Regions from separate parts of the Homo sapiens genome. Here regions 1 and 2 are each linked to region 3. Evidence: promoter capture Hi-C in 16 types of primary human blood cells and fetal thymus (Javierre and others, 2016). All regions are on one chromosome and are shown on one strand. Each heading gives the region's core, a stretch centred on a gene start or on the middle of the fragment in contact. The rest is flanking DNA. Distances are from core to core; before and after follow the strand shown.

Region 1 (4,003 bases), core at 774-3,273, 400 kb after region 3:
TAGGAGGATTCGGGCCTTAGCTTGGGGAGTTTTTGCCTTGACTAAGAGTAACCCAGAATCCCAAAACAGACCTCTTTCTACTTCTCCCTCACCGTAGATATAGAATGGGGGTGCTGGACAGTGAAGTATGAAGTGTGGCATCCAATCATCGGCCACTAGGGGACCCCCTGCCTTTCAGGGAAGCAGCGGGGGCGGCCCCATGTGAATGTAACTCACAGATGGCTTTAATGAGGCCTTTCCTTGCTAATTAGCAAGTCCACAGGACAGGAGCCTAAAAAGGCCAGTCTTTCCCAGCAAGTCCCAGCAGGCCTGACCTGAGGACCAGAGAGAGGCCTTTGTCCAAGGGCAGAGGGGATGCTGAAGATTCGACTGGAGTGGAGGGGAGGAGGGGCAGGGAGCCACAAAGTAGAGGAGGACGGAACAGAAACGGAACAGAATGGCGCCGCCCCCCCAGCCCTGCAGGTGGGACTAAGGGGGAGGAGCAGAGTGAACAGGGCCCTCGGCTTCCAAGCTAGGACTCGCCACTCAGTGTGCAGACCCCAGAACTTGTGAGAAATGCTGACTCTCCCTTCATCCCGAAACTACCGAAACAAATCTAATCTTAACAAGATTCCAGATGACTGGGTGCACTTTGATGTTTGAGCTACCCCGGACTGGAATGGCTGAGTCATTTCACCTATCTGAGCCTTGCTTCTGAGTCTGTTTCCTCAATTGAGAAGACATTCAAAGCTTTTAGTCCAGAGCCTGGTGACAATAATTACATTACTGTCATTACTCTATTGGCTAGGAGAGAAGGGGCACCTTGTAGCTGGTCTGTAGGGGTCAAGGGCAGGCCTGGCTTTCTGGAGTTGAACTAGAGTGACAAGAGAAGCTTATACAATGGGGCGGCGGAGGGTGTATATGTGTGCACTGGACTGCCGGCAAACCACAGCACACCTCCAGGGAACAGGAGTAAACAAAAGTTGGTAGGCTGGTGCCAGCCTGGCCCTGGTTGGAAATATATGCTCAGCTCCTGACTCCCGGGGTAGGAGGTGGGAGTTTCCCACTCTTTAGCCGGGCCTGAAACAAAGGGTCAGGAGACCCAGGGAACAGGAACACCAGAACCTGCAGCCACACCAGAGGGCACGAGGGTCCTCCTGATAAGGAGCTGGTGACATTCTTTCCATATTTATGTAGAACCTACCATGTGCCCTGCAGGGAGTCCTAAAGGGAAAGAGAATAGCCTTGCTCCATGTGGGGAAGGAAATACCAGGATTCTCATATCTTCCCGCACAAAACAATTCCCCTGGAGCTGGTTAAAAACCCAGAGCCCAAAGGCTGGGCGCGGTGGCTCACGCCTGTAAATCCCAGCACTTTGGGAGGCCGAGGCAGGGGCGGGGGCGGGGCGGGGCGGGGCGGGGCGGGGGAGGTGGATCACGAGGTCAGGAGATCGAGACCATCCTGGCCAACATGGTGAAACCCCGTCTCTACTAAAAATACAAAAATAGCCATGTGTGGTGGCGCAGGCCGGGGAGGCTGAGGCAGCAGAATCGCTTGAACCCGGGAGGTAGAAGGTTGCAGTGAGCCGAGATCGTGCCACTGCACTCCAGCCTGGCAACGGATCGAGACTCCGTCTCAAAAAACCCCCAGAGCCCAGACCCTAGCCCAGAGATTCTGACTTCCTGTGCCTGAGGTGGGACCCTAGGAATTTGAAATTAATTAAATTAATTTTTTTGGGTGGGGGAGGACAGGATCTTGCTCTGTCACCCAGGCTGGAGTGCAGTGGTGCCATCATAGCTGACTGCAGCCTCTATCTCCCAGGCTCAAGCAATCCTCCTGCCTTGGCTTCCCAAAGTGCTGGGGTTGTTTTTGTTTTTGTTTTTTGTTTTGAAACAGGGTCTCGCTCTGCCACCAAGGCTGGAGTGCAGTGGCGCAATCTTGGCTTTCTGCAACCTCTGCCTCCTGAACTCGAGCAGTCCTCCCGCCTCAGCCTCCTGAGTAGCTGCAGCTACAGGTGCATGCCACCAAGCCTGGCAAATTTTTGTATTTTTAGTAGAGACAACAGGATCTTGCCATGTTGCCCAGGCTGCCCTCAAACTCCCATGATCCACCTGCCTCAGTCTCCCAAAGCACTGGGATTACAGGCGTGAGCCACCGCCCAGCCCAGAATCTGCATTTCAAATAAATGTCTGAGGTAGCTGTGAGCTGTCCCATTTAGAGGAACGGGGTAGGAAAGAGAGTCCTCTAGCAAACAAGGGTGTCCCATTGCTGGTGGCGGGTGCAGCGGTGGTAGATAAAGAATCTTGGCTCAGTTAATCCAAGATGCAAGGGAGGAGTCCTGAGTGACTGGCAGCTTTGTCTCCAGTAACAGCCCAGTCCTTTATCTTGGGATTTGCGAAGATCCACATCTCTGCTTTCTCATGCATTTAAACACACACACACACACACACACACACACACACTCGTGTGGCCTTGCTTGGGCTGGGAGAGGGCAGAAGACTTTGTTAGGATTGCAAATGCATTCAGTGAAGCCCTCCTAATTGCTGGAATACATATTAGAGAAATTCTGTAAAGAAAATTTTTTTGCTCATCACCACTCTCACATGACTGTTTGCATTTACCCGCTGTACCCAGCCTACCCTTGTGCAAACAGATTTTTACATGGCTGCAACCACAGAGCAAACAGTTGATTACTCCTTAATTCCCTTACACATCCCTACATTGATTTTCCTCCCTTCCATTCCACCGCCTGTTCTCTAAGGGCTGGATATCGCCAGCATCTCACCCCAGGCTTGAGGGGAATGTCACAGACTCAGGGGCCCTATGGAACTCTAATCCCACTCTCTCTGAGACTTTGAAATAGTCTTTTCATGGCTCAGTTTCCTCTATTCTACAGCAGTGTTAGGAAGAGGAGCTGAAGCAGGCAAGGGCAGGAAGTGCTCCATGCTGGGAACGATCCAATAATAAATCATGCCTTAGAGGAGGGGCCAGTAAACTTTTTCTGTACAGGGCCAGATAGTAAATATGTTAGCCTTTGCAGGCCATAAGGTCTCTTTTGTAGCTACTCAACTCTAGCCATAGACCATATGTAAATGAGGGGCATAGTTGGTTATGTTCTAATAAAACTTTATTCCTCAAAGCAGGCCATGGGCCAGAATGGAGCCAGGACTGTAGTTTGCCAATCCTTGCTTTAGAGCAAGCTTGTCCAACCCATGGCCCAACACAAATTAGTGAACTTTCTTAAAATATTATGAGGGGTTTTTTTTTGCGTTTTTTTGTTTTGTTTTTTAGCTCATCAGCTATTGTTAGTGTCAGTGTATTTTATGTGTGGCCCAAGACAATTCTTCTTCCAATGTGACCCAGGGAAGCCAAAAGATTGGACACCCTGTTTAGAGCTTTTTGTTTTAATGCTCTTCAAAGCACTACCATAAATACCGCTTCAGGCAGTTACCCTGCAGGCAGCCTGGACACTATCCCCTTTAACAGAAGAAAAAATTGAGGCCCAGAGAGTGCTTAGCCCTATGTATTGACAGAGACAGGATGCCAAGGCAGGGCTGCACCTGCATCCCATCACAGAATCCCCAACACTGGTCCCTCCTCTCCCTAACTCCAAGCAGAGCAGGGAGGACTTCTGCCACGCCCAGTGGCACCCCAGGGAACACCCCGGAAACACTGAGGCGCTGTTCTGCTGGGTGCATGATGTTTTCCATGGCTCCTTGTGCAGGCAAGACCAAGCTGAGTCAGCTGGAGGCCCAGCCCTGCCTTGAGGAACGGGAGGAGCTGTCCTTTGGACTCCAGCTCTGCCCAGGCTGATGAGGGCAGCAGCTGGCTGGAGATGACAGGGCACCAGGCCCTCTTCCCTCACCAGAGGTGCTGATGCCCACTAGCAGCCTGCACAGCCTAGGCAAAATGCAGAAGTGGCTGAGAGGCGTGGCTGAGAGGCATGGCTGAGGTCTCCCCTTGAGGGAGGAAGGGTGTGTGTGTGTGTATGTGTGTGGTATTTTCCAGGCAGATGCCCCTCAAG
Region 2 (4,157 bases), core at 1,264-3,763, 440 kb after region 3:
CTCCAGCTTCTCAGCAGATGAACCCAGCCTGAAACAAGAGGGCAGCAGAGTCTGGGTGATGCAGTCTGTAGGGTCAGTCTTTGGGGCTCAGAGCTGGAGGAGAAAGGGGGAGAATGAGTCGGGGCTGGGCAAACAGAACAACTAGCGCACGACAATGTGGAATGTGTGGTGCCAGGAGCTGGGGGCAGGCGAGACACAAATAACAGAATGGTCTCCACCCTCTGTGAGCTTGCTGGGTTCCTTAGAGCAGGCTGGCAAGAAGAGTTGCCTATATAATACTTCTGGAAAGAAATGAATGCTATGTCCGTGTTATTGTAGAAGAGTGAATGTCATAATAGACCCTAAGGTGACCCCAGTGATTTCTACCTCCTGTTGTTCCTACCTTTGTAAAATTCTCTCCCTTTGAGTGTGGGTGAGGCCCTTGACTTGATTCTAACCCATAGAATATGGCAAAGGTGATGGGACGTCTCTCTGTGGATTATGTTAGGTTATATAGACTTTAGCAGATTGCAGAGAGACTCTTCTCGCTGACTTGATGAAATAAGCAGCGTGGTGAGGAAGCTGGTGTAACAAGGAACAGAGGGCAGCCTCTATGACCTGAGTGTGTCCCCCAGGCAATGTCAAGTGAAAAGCCAGCTCCCTTGTCACATAGCCACAACAAAATGAGTTCTGCCAACAACCTGAATAAGTTGGAAGTGGATTCTTCCCCAGTTGAGCCTCCAGATGAAAATACAGCCCAGGTGACACCCTGAGAGCAGCCTTGTGAGACGCTAGGCAGAGGACCAGCTAAGCTGTGCCTGGACTCCTGGCCCATAGAAACTGTGAGATAATAAATGTGTGGCCAGGCACGGTGGCTCATGCCTGTAATCGCAGCACTTTGGGAGGCTGAGGCAGGTGGATCACCTGAGGTCGGGAGTTTGAGACCACCCTGACCAACATGGAGAAACCCTGTCTCTACTAAAAATACAAAATTAGTGGGGCATGGCGGCACATGCCTGTAATCCCAGCTACTCAGGAGGCTGAGGCAGGAGAATTGCTTGAACCTGGGAGGCAGGAGGTTGTGCTGAGCCGAGATCGCATCATTGTACTCTAGCCTGGGCAACAAGAGTGAAACTCCATCTCAAAATAATAATAATAATAATAATAATAATAATAATAATAATAATAATAAATGTGTGTAGTTTTAAAACTGCTGACTTTGTGGTTATTTGTTATGCAACATAGAAAACTAATATAACACACACATTAGCCAGAGTTCTTCAGAGAGACAGAGCTAATAGGATTATATATAGAGGTATGAGAGAAGATTTATTAGGGGGATTGGCTCACATGTTTATGGAGGCTGAGAAGTCCCACAATATGCCATCTGCAAGATGGAGAACCAGGGAAGCCAGTAGCATGGCTCAGTTCAAGCCCAAAGGGTTCAGAGCCAAGGAAACTGATGGTGTAACTCTGGGTCTGAAGCTGAAGGACTGAGAACGTGAGAGTGGGGAGGGGTTGCTACTGGTGCAAGTCCTGGAGTCCAAGGGCAGGAGAAGAAGAGTGTCCCAGCTCCAGGACAGAGAGAGAGAGAGAGAGGGAGAGAATTCACCTTTCCCCTGCCTTTTTCTTCTGTCCAGGCCTAAGCCAATTGGATGGTGCCCACCCACATAGGCTGAAGGCAGATTCTCCTTACTTAGTCCATGAATTCAAATGCCAGTCTCTTTGGCAAGCACCCTCACAGAAACACCCAGAAATAAAGCTTTACCAGCTTGTTGGGTAATCCCTTCATCCAGTCCTAAAATTAACTGTCACAACACATAAGCAAAATGTCAGTATGCTGTGGGAGGAAGATATTTGAGAGAGATTTGGGAAGGCTTCACAGAGGAGGTGGCATTTGTACTCACACATGAAGAGTGAGAGGGATTTAAATAGAAAGGGAAAGATGAGCGGCTGCCTTGTCCCCAACCTCTTCATTTCCCAATCTTGGGCCTGAGAGTCCTCGGCAAGGACACATTTTCCAGCTGGGCCCCAAGCAAGTTCACAGAAGGAGTCCTTCTCTCCCCGTCCCTTAACTTGTTGTGGAGAAGCTGACTGAAGCAGGGAGAACCCAGCTCCCCACCCCCATATACCTTCCGTCAATCAATTCATGTGGAGTAGAGGTAAAACAGTCCCAGTTTGTCTCTTTTTCAAAAATAACTATCCTCTTTGATTTTGTGAGCAACATATGTTCATTATGAACAATTTTTTTTTTTTTTTTTGAGATGGAGTCTCTCTCTGTCGCCCAGGCTGGAGTGCAATGGCGTAGTCTCGGCTCACTGCAAACTCCGCCTCCCAGGTTGAAGTGATTCTCCTGCCTCGGCCTCCCAAGTAGCTGGAATTACAGGCGCCCACCACCATGCCTGGCTAATTTTTGTATTTTTAGTACAGATGGGGTTTTACCATGTTGGCCAGGCTGGTCTCGAACTCCTGACCTTGTGATCCACCCGCCTCAGCCTCCCAAAGTGCCGGGATTACAGGCGTGAGCCTGGATCTGGTAAGGCTTTAACAAAGGCCTCCACCTTCCCTAGGGCCTGACTACAGCTGGTAGGTGGCCTGTGTGAGGCAGGTTGGATGTCTGTTCCTACACATAGCCCTTCTGGCCGTCCAGGGCCCAGAGTGAATGGGGCTAAAGGGACAAGAGCACGATTGGCTCTAACCCAGGGATGCTGCTGTGTCCAAGATGCAGTATAAGTGCACCTAGATTGTAGTGAACAGCACATCAGACATGCTGCTGTAATAGATACAAAATCATAACATCATAGCCAAGATTTATGGGGCACTTACTCTGGGGCAGACCTTGTTCTAAATGCTTTTCTTATATTAACTCACATACTCTTTTTTTTTTTTTTTTTTGAGATAGGGTCTCGCTTTGTCATTCAGGCTGGAGTGCAGTGGTGCGATCTTGGCTCACTGCAACCTCCGCCTCCTGGGTTCAAGCGATTCTCCTGCCTCAGCCTCCCGAGTAGCTGGGATTACAGGAGTGTGCACCATCACGCCTGGCTAATTTATGTATTTTTAATAGAGATGAGGTTTCACCATGTTGGCCAGGCTGGTCTCGTACTCCTGGCCTCAAGTGATCCACCCGCCTCGGCCTCCCAAAATGTTGGGATTACAGGTGTGAGCCACCGTGCCCAGCCCCACTTACTCCCCTTAACAGCCCTATCAGATGGGCGCCATTATTCCTATTTTAAGAATGAGGAAACTGGGGCCCAGAGAGGTTAAGTTACTTGCTCAAGGTCACCCAGCCAGTAATGTAAGCAAGAAACAAGCTTGTATTGTTTTCAGCCACTGAGATTTTAGAGTGGTTTGTTACTGTAGCATAACCTAGCCCATTCTGAAATATGTATGCACATGTATTTGATATATGTTATATGTTGTATAAATTGTATATTTATATAAATCTATTTACATGTAATTATATATTATTTATATAAATCATATAAATTGTGTATCAGTGCACAACTTGACCAAGTGTCCAAGGCCCTGGTGGGGAAAGCAGAAATATGGGCAGTGGTTCCCTCTAGATGAGTTAGGAGACCTGGGTGTGCCCCATATGTAAAGGAGGAAGGCAAACAAGAGAAAAAGACAGGGCAGGGCAAGCGCTGGCTTTAAGCTTTCCTGGCAGCATCCAGGTTAAGTGCACCTGCACCCAAATGCTGGTTCCATAAATGAGCCAGCTTTTAAGTGTGTGGCTAGGGAGTACGCATCCCACCAGGCATCAGAGAAAGCTGTTGCTGCATAGACAGGCCCCCAGGCTTGGCCTGGGAGCTTTCCAGGACCAGCAGGTAGCAGCTCACCCATGCACCTGTGTGCCTGCACTCTCACACTCACACATACCCCAGGGCACCAGGCGCACACTCCATGTCCCCTGCCCTGTGCCCCTAGTAGGTGATGGTGATGATGTGAGGCTCAGAATTAGATGGAAGGATGAATTCAGGGCTCTCAAGAAGGGAGAGATGCAACCTTCAGGAACATGAGAGTGTGGCCAGAACAGGATGAGTGTGTACGAGTGTGTGTATGTGTGTGCACGTCTCTGTGTACTGGTGCAGGCTAATGTAGGAGGGGGTTCTCTCTGGCTGTTCAAGGCTTATCTTGGAAGCCCACAGACTCTGCATCCACCCAGGTGCCCTCAAATG
Region 3 (4,197 bases), core at 613-3,112:
TTGCTGGCTGTCCCTCCCCGGACAGTGAGCTCCCTGAGGGGAGGGCCTGAGGACTGTCTCCCAGTCGTGGCACCAAGAACTGCGTTCTAACCGAGCGCATCCGCATCTGTCCACCCAGAAGGAAACCAGAGACCAGCCTCCAACCTCATCCCCAGCTGCCCAACAGTGCCAGGTCTGGGCCAATGGAATCTCGGCCAGGGCGGGTGCAGGGGCCTGAGGCCACACCCCAGAGGTGTCACTGGGGGCCTGCATCCGTCTTGTCCCTTTCCCTGAGGGATGAAGCAGCCCCTCACTCGGGATGGGGGGAGGGCAGAGGATGGGAGCTGGGCAGTAATTAACCTGCACTTCCCCAGCGAGCTCTAAGCCAAAAACTGCGCTCAAGTTGAGTGCAGAAGCTCCGCGCTGAACCGTCCCCAGAACAGACAGGCGAGAGAACGACGGCTGGAGCTGAGGGGGGTTCGGGGGAAGGCGCAGCGGCCAGGGGCTGGCGGAGAGCGGAGGGCGGGGGCCTGGGCCCAGCGGGGTTCGCGCAGACAAGCCCCGCCCCGGGCTCCCTCCCTTCCTCACCCGGGGCGCGGGGCTGGGGCGCGCCAGGCGGCTGCGGCGCGAACCTGCTCGCGCAGCCCGGAGCAGCTCGGGGCAGCCGTGCGTGAAGCCGGAACCCCGCGCGGGGAGGGGGCCGAGCTGGCATCTGCCCGCTCCCTTCCAGGAGGCGAGCGGACGCGCTGGGCCAGAGCTGGTCGGGACAGCCCAGGGGTGGGCGGCACGGACTCGGGGGATCGGGGGGAAGGGGGCGTGTTTTCCGGGATTCGGGACCGAGACGGGGGGAGGGGGAAACTCGGGGGGCGGGCAGGCAGCTGGGAACCCGGGGGGAGGCAGACAACGGGGCGCACGGAGGGAGCGCTCCGGGGTTGGTGTTCCCCAGGGTCATAGAATAACCCACGGGGAGAAAGAGACTGCCCAGGGACTCGAGGGGACGGGGCCAGGGGCGGCTTCTTCAAGAGACCGAGCTGGAGGAAGGGACGGGAAGGGAGGGAGAGATGGTACTTCCACCCGCCCCCCCATCAGCCCAGCCCCCGGGGCGTGGCGCCGCTCTGGCCCTCCCACTCCCCCCGCTGGCCTGGCCAGACTCAGCCCCCGCACACCTCCCCTACCTCCGACCCCCTCTCAGGCATCGCCGGCCCCAGCCGTGTCCGGTGGAGGGGGAGTGGGCGCGGGGCCCGCGCGTCCCTCAAACTTCTTGCGAGTTCACCATCACGCCTCCCGCCCCTTCGACTCCCAGCTCCGGGCCGGGAAGGCCCATGCCCGCCCGGCCCCTCCCGCCCGGTTACATAAGGTCGCGGAGAAGCCGCCCCCGGCCCGCGCCTGAAGGGAGGGGCCGAGGGGGCTCCCGGCTCGGCGGGCAGCGCCGCTCGGGCCACGCGCTGGGCGCCCGGGGGCGGACGGACTGCGGGTGGGTGGCGGCGCGCACGGTCCTGCTTCCCTCTCCTGCCGGCATCCCCCACCCTCCCACCTGTCTCCGGGACCCACGGGATAGGGGCCAGGGAGCCTGGGTCGGGGGTCCCGGGCCCTCCTCGTGCCTCTCGCTCCCCGGTCCCGCTCACCTCGCTCTGAAGGTCAATCTGTCCGCCGCCCGCGCCCCGCGGCTCCGGCAACTTGTCGCAAGTTCGGGTGCCTGGCCCGCAAGCTGTGCCCGCCACCTGCTCCCGGCCTGCTCCGGCCCCGTGCCACCAGGGAGGCCCGCCCCGTCCGCCCTTCCCGCCGCCGTCGGCGCCGCGGCCGCTCCCTGCGTCCCGCCCGGGCCGCCGCCTCCGCTGTCACCGAGCCCCGCGCCCGGCGCCCGGGCTCCGGCTGTCACTCCACGCACACTTCCCTCCGCGCCCGGCAGAGGGCAGCACCCGCCCCGCCTCCCAGCCGCTCTGCCTCGGCGCCCACTGGGAAGCGTAGTTCTCGCTGCAGTCCCGCTAGGCACGCCGGGATTTGTAGTCCCGCTCAGCGGACTAAGGCTTACAGGGAAAGAGGCTCTTGACTTGGAACCTCTGATCCACTTCTACCTCTTTGCAAGTTTTCTTTCTCCTCTCAGTAAAGTCCCAAACCAGGGCTCACTAAGATACATTCTGTAGCCTGTCCGACCCCCTAAAAGGAACCTGCAGCCTGCTGTCCTTCGGCAGTCTAAGAAAGAGAGGGTCCCAGATGGTGTGCTGTTGCCATAGAAACTCCACCTGTGGCAAATTCCAGCTTCTCTTCAGGAGTAGGGTGCAGGACCTGGATCTTGCACTTTTATCCCTGCCCCGATCATAAGGGGCAAGGCCAGGGTGAGCCTGGCGAAGTACAGGGTAAAATATGACAGTAGAAGGCAGCCTGCCCCCATTATGGGTTCTACATTCACGCCCCACTCACCAGCCTGAGCTTGCTGTCATGTTGCTGGACAGAAATTGTCTGAGCTCCTTTCATGTCACCTTCCCTTGTTGGAAGTTCACAGGGTGCGGAGGCATCATTCTCTACTTTCTCCTCTTCCCCGCCCCTTTTTCCCTGTCTCCTCCCCCAGCCCCTCCCCTGCTTTTCTTCTCCTTCCCCTCCTCCTTTTCTTCCTCTCTCTCCTCCTTCCCCACATACAATGTTGCTCCTGGTTTCTGGATCTTTTGCTAAGAGGCTCCTGAGGAGGACAGGGATGAAGTCCAAAGGGACAAGATCCCTTGCTGAGTTGGTTCCAGCAAATAGGCTCGATTTCTCTGTGACTCAAGTAGGAACACTCTCCCCCGGCCCGCCACCCACCCACCCATGATGGCGCTACCACTGTCTTCCCTTTCCAGGGGAAAAGTATGAACTTTAAGCTCTGAGGGTTACAGAGCCCATCCCAAGCCATGCCTTAGGTCCCATTTCTCTTAGAATCACAGTGACCCACCAGGAAACCTTGTAGCCACTCAGGGAAAACTCCCTTCCAAAAACAACAGGATGACCAACATAAAGAAGAACTATTTATTATTAGAGAAAGTCCAGAGTCCAGAAAAAGAAGGCTGAATCCAGAGTGGAAAGACAGATACAATGCCCTAGGAGGGTGCAGGGTCAAGAGGAAGAGGGGAGCCCACGTGTCGAGGCAGCAAGTCTAGGCGGCAGTGGCAAAGCCTACTCTGTTGTTGCCCAAGTCGTAGACGGAATAGTAGGACCTGAGGAAGACATCCCCGAGGATCCACAGGGGCTGGCCGTTCTGGGAGGACAGGTAGGTGGGCTCGACTCCCACGGTGCAGTAGCCGTTGTTCTGCTCAACAAAGAAAGGCAGCACTCATTCATTTGTCCACACATGAGCTGGGCCCTGCTCAGCTCTGAGCCCTGGGCTGGGAGCACAAGTGCAGAGCTGAGGGAGCCAGGGTCTCTGCCTTGAGGGCTCATAGGCCAACTGAGCCACCAGAGCAGAGCGGGTGGGAGGATTTCTGGAACAGGTACATTCAGGCTGCCGTGGTCCTCAGCAGGGTCTCCTCTCCCCATGATGGGAAACTTCTCTTCCCACAGACCTCCCTCCTGCTCCCAATTTGGAGCAGATCAGCCTGGTGGTTAAACCTTGGAGCCAAACCAACTTGAATTCAAACCTTAGCTGTGTCGCCTTGAGTCAGTTACTCAACCTCTCTGAACCTCCAAGTTTTCATTTGTAAAACAGAAATGAGTATCTCCCTCATTAAATACTGTGACAATTAAATGGGATCATGAAGCAAAGTGCTTTGCACAGTGGTCTGCCCTAGTAAGTGCTCAACAAAGAGCCCAGTGCCTCTCCCCACTAATTAATAATAATTGATCATAGATGACAATCTTCTATTTCATAGCCTTGTTCCAGAGAAGGGGGTTTAGAATCAATGAGTGGGGAAGATAAATGAGTACAAGCGTGGAGTCGGAAAATGGCACAAGGCAGGAGACCCAGCATTTCTGGCTCCCCAGCCCTTCCTCCCAACCCCAATCATGGTGGCTCAGCCTGCAGGGACCAGGACTTACACTGAGGATATAGGAGGAAGGTGGCAGAGGGAACTCCACACCATTGATGATGAAGGTCAAGCTGGGCAGATTCTGAATGCTGTTACAGTTCACGAGAAACTGCAAGAGGAATAGGTCCCTGGTTAACTCATCCTCCCCCTGATAGCACCCACCAGCCCCATCATCTCAGCCCCTGGATCCCAGGCCTGAGCTCCGGGCCCAAGCCCTAAGCCT

Evidence for each region. Contacts are between HindIII fragments. The CHiCAGO score rates a contact against its expected background, and 5 or more counts as called.
Region 1: a fragment that was not itself captured here is called in contact with the fragment with the promoter of TFEB in region 3 in 1 of 17 cell types (naive CD8 T cells); the score reaches 5.0 in naive CD8 T cells.
Region 2: a contact is called between a fragment that was not itself captured here and the fragment with the promoter of TFEB in region 3, in 2 of 17 cell types (total CD8 T cells and non-activated CD4 T cells). The highest score is 5.5, in total CD8 T cells.

What each region holds. Positions count from the first base shown.
Region 1 is chr6:42,136,442-42,140,444 of GRCh38, forward strand. The region is part of intron 1 of C6orf132 (chromosome 6 open reading frame 132); the gene reads right to left. Among named protein-coding and RNA genes, the nearest start is that of C6orf132, 4.2 kb to the right of the region's middle. RefSeq lists enhancers at 1-518, 214-453. The HindIII fragment of the contact is 2,308 bases long and covers 870-3,177 here.
Region 2 is chr6:42,168,792-42,172,948 of GRCh38, forward strand. The region is part of intron 1 of GUCA1ANB-GUCA1A (GUCA1ANB-GUCA1A readthrough); the gene reads left to right. Among named protein-coding and RNA genes, the nearest start is that of GUCA1A, 2.5 kb to the right of the region's middle. The HindIII fragment of the contact is 1,549 bases long and covers 1,740-3,288 here.
Region 3 is chr6:41,733,746-41,737,942 of GRCh38, forward strand. TFEB (transcription factor EB) reads right to left here and starts at 1,863. Exons shown (of 9, transcript NM_001271944.2): 1 at 1,605-1,863. PGC (progastricsin) reads right to left here. Exons shown (of 9, transcript NM_002630.4): 8 at 3,985-4,083; 9 at 2,966-3,259. The coding sequence ends at 3,107. RefSeq lists silencers at 412-851, 982-1,511, 1,552-2,021. The HindIII fragment of the contact is 28,952 bases long and covers 1-4,197 here.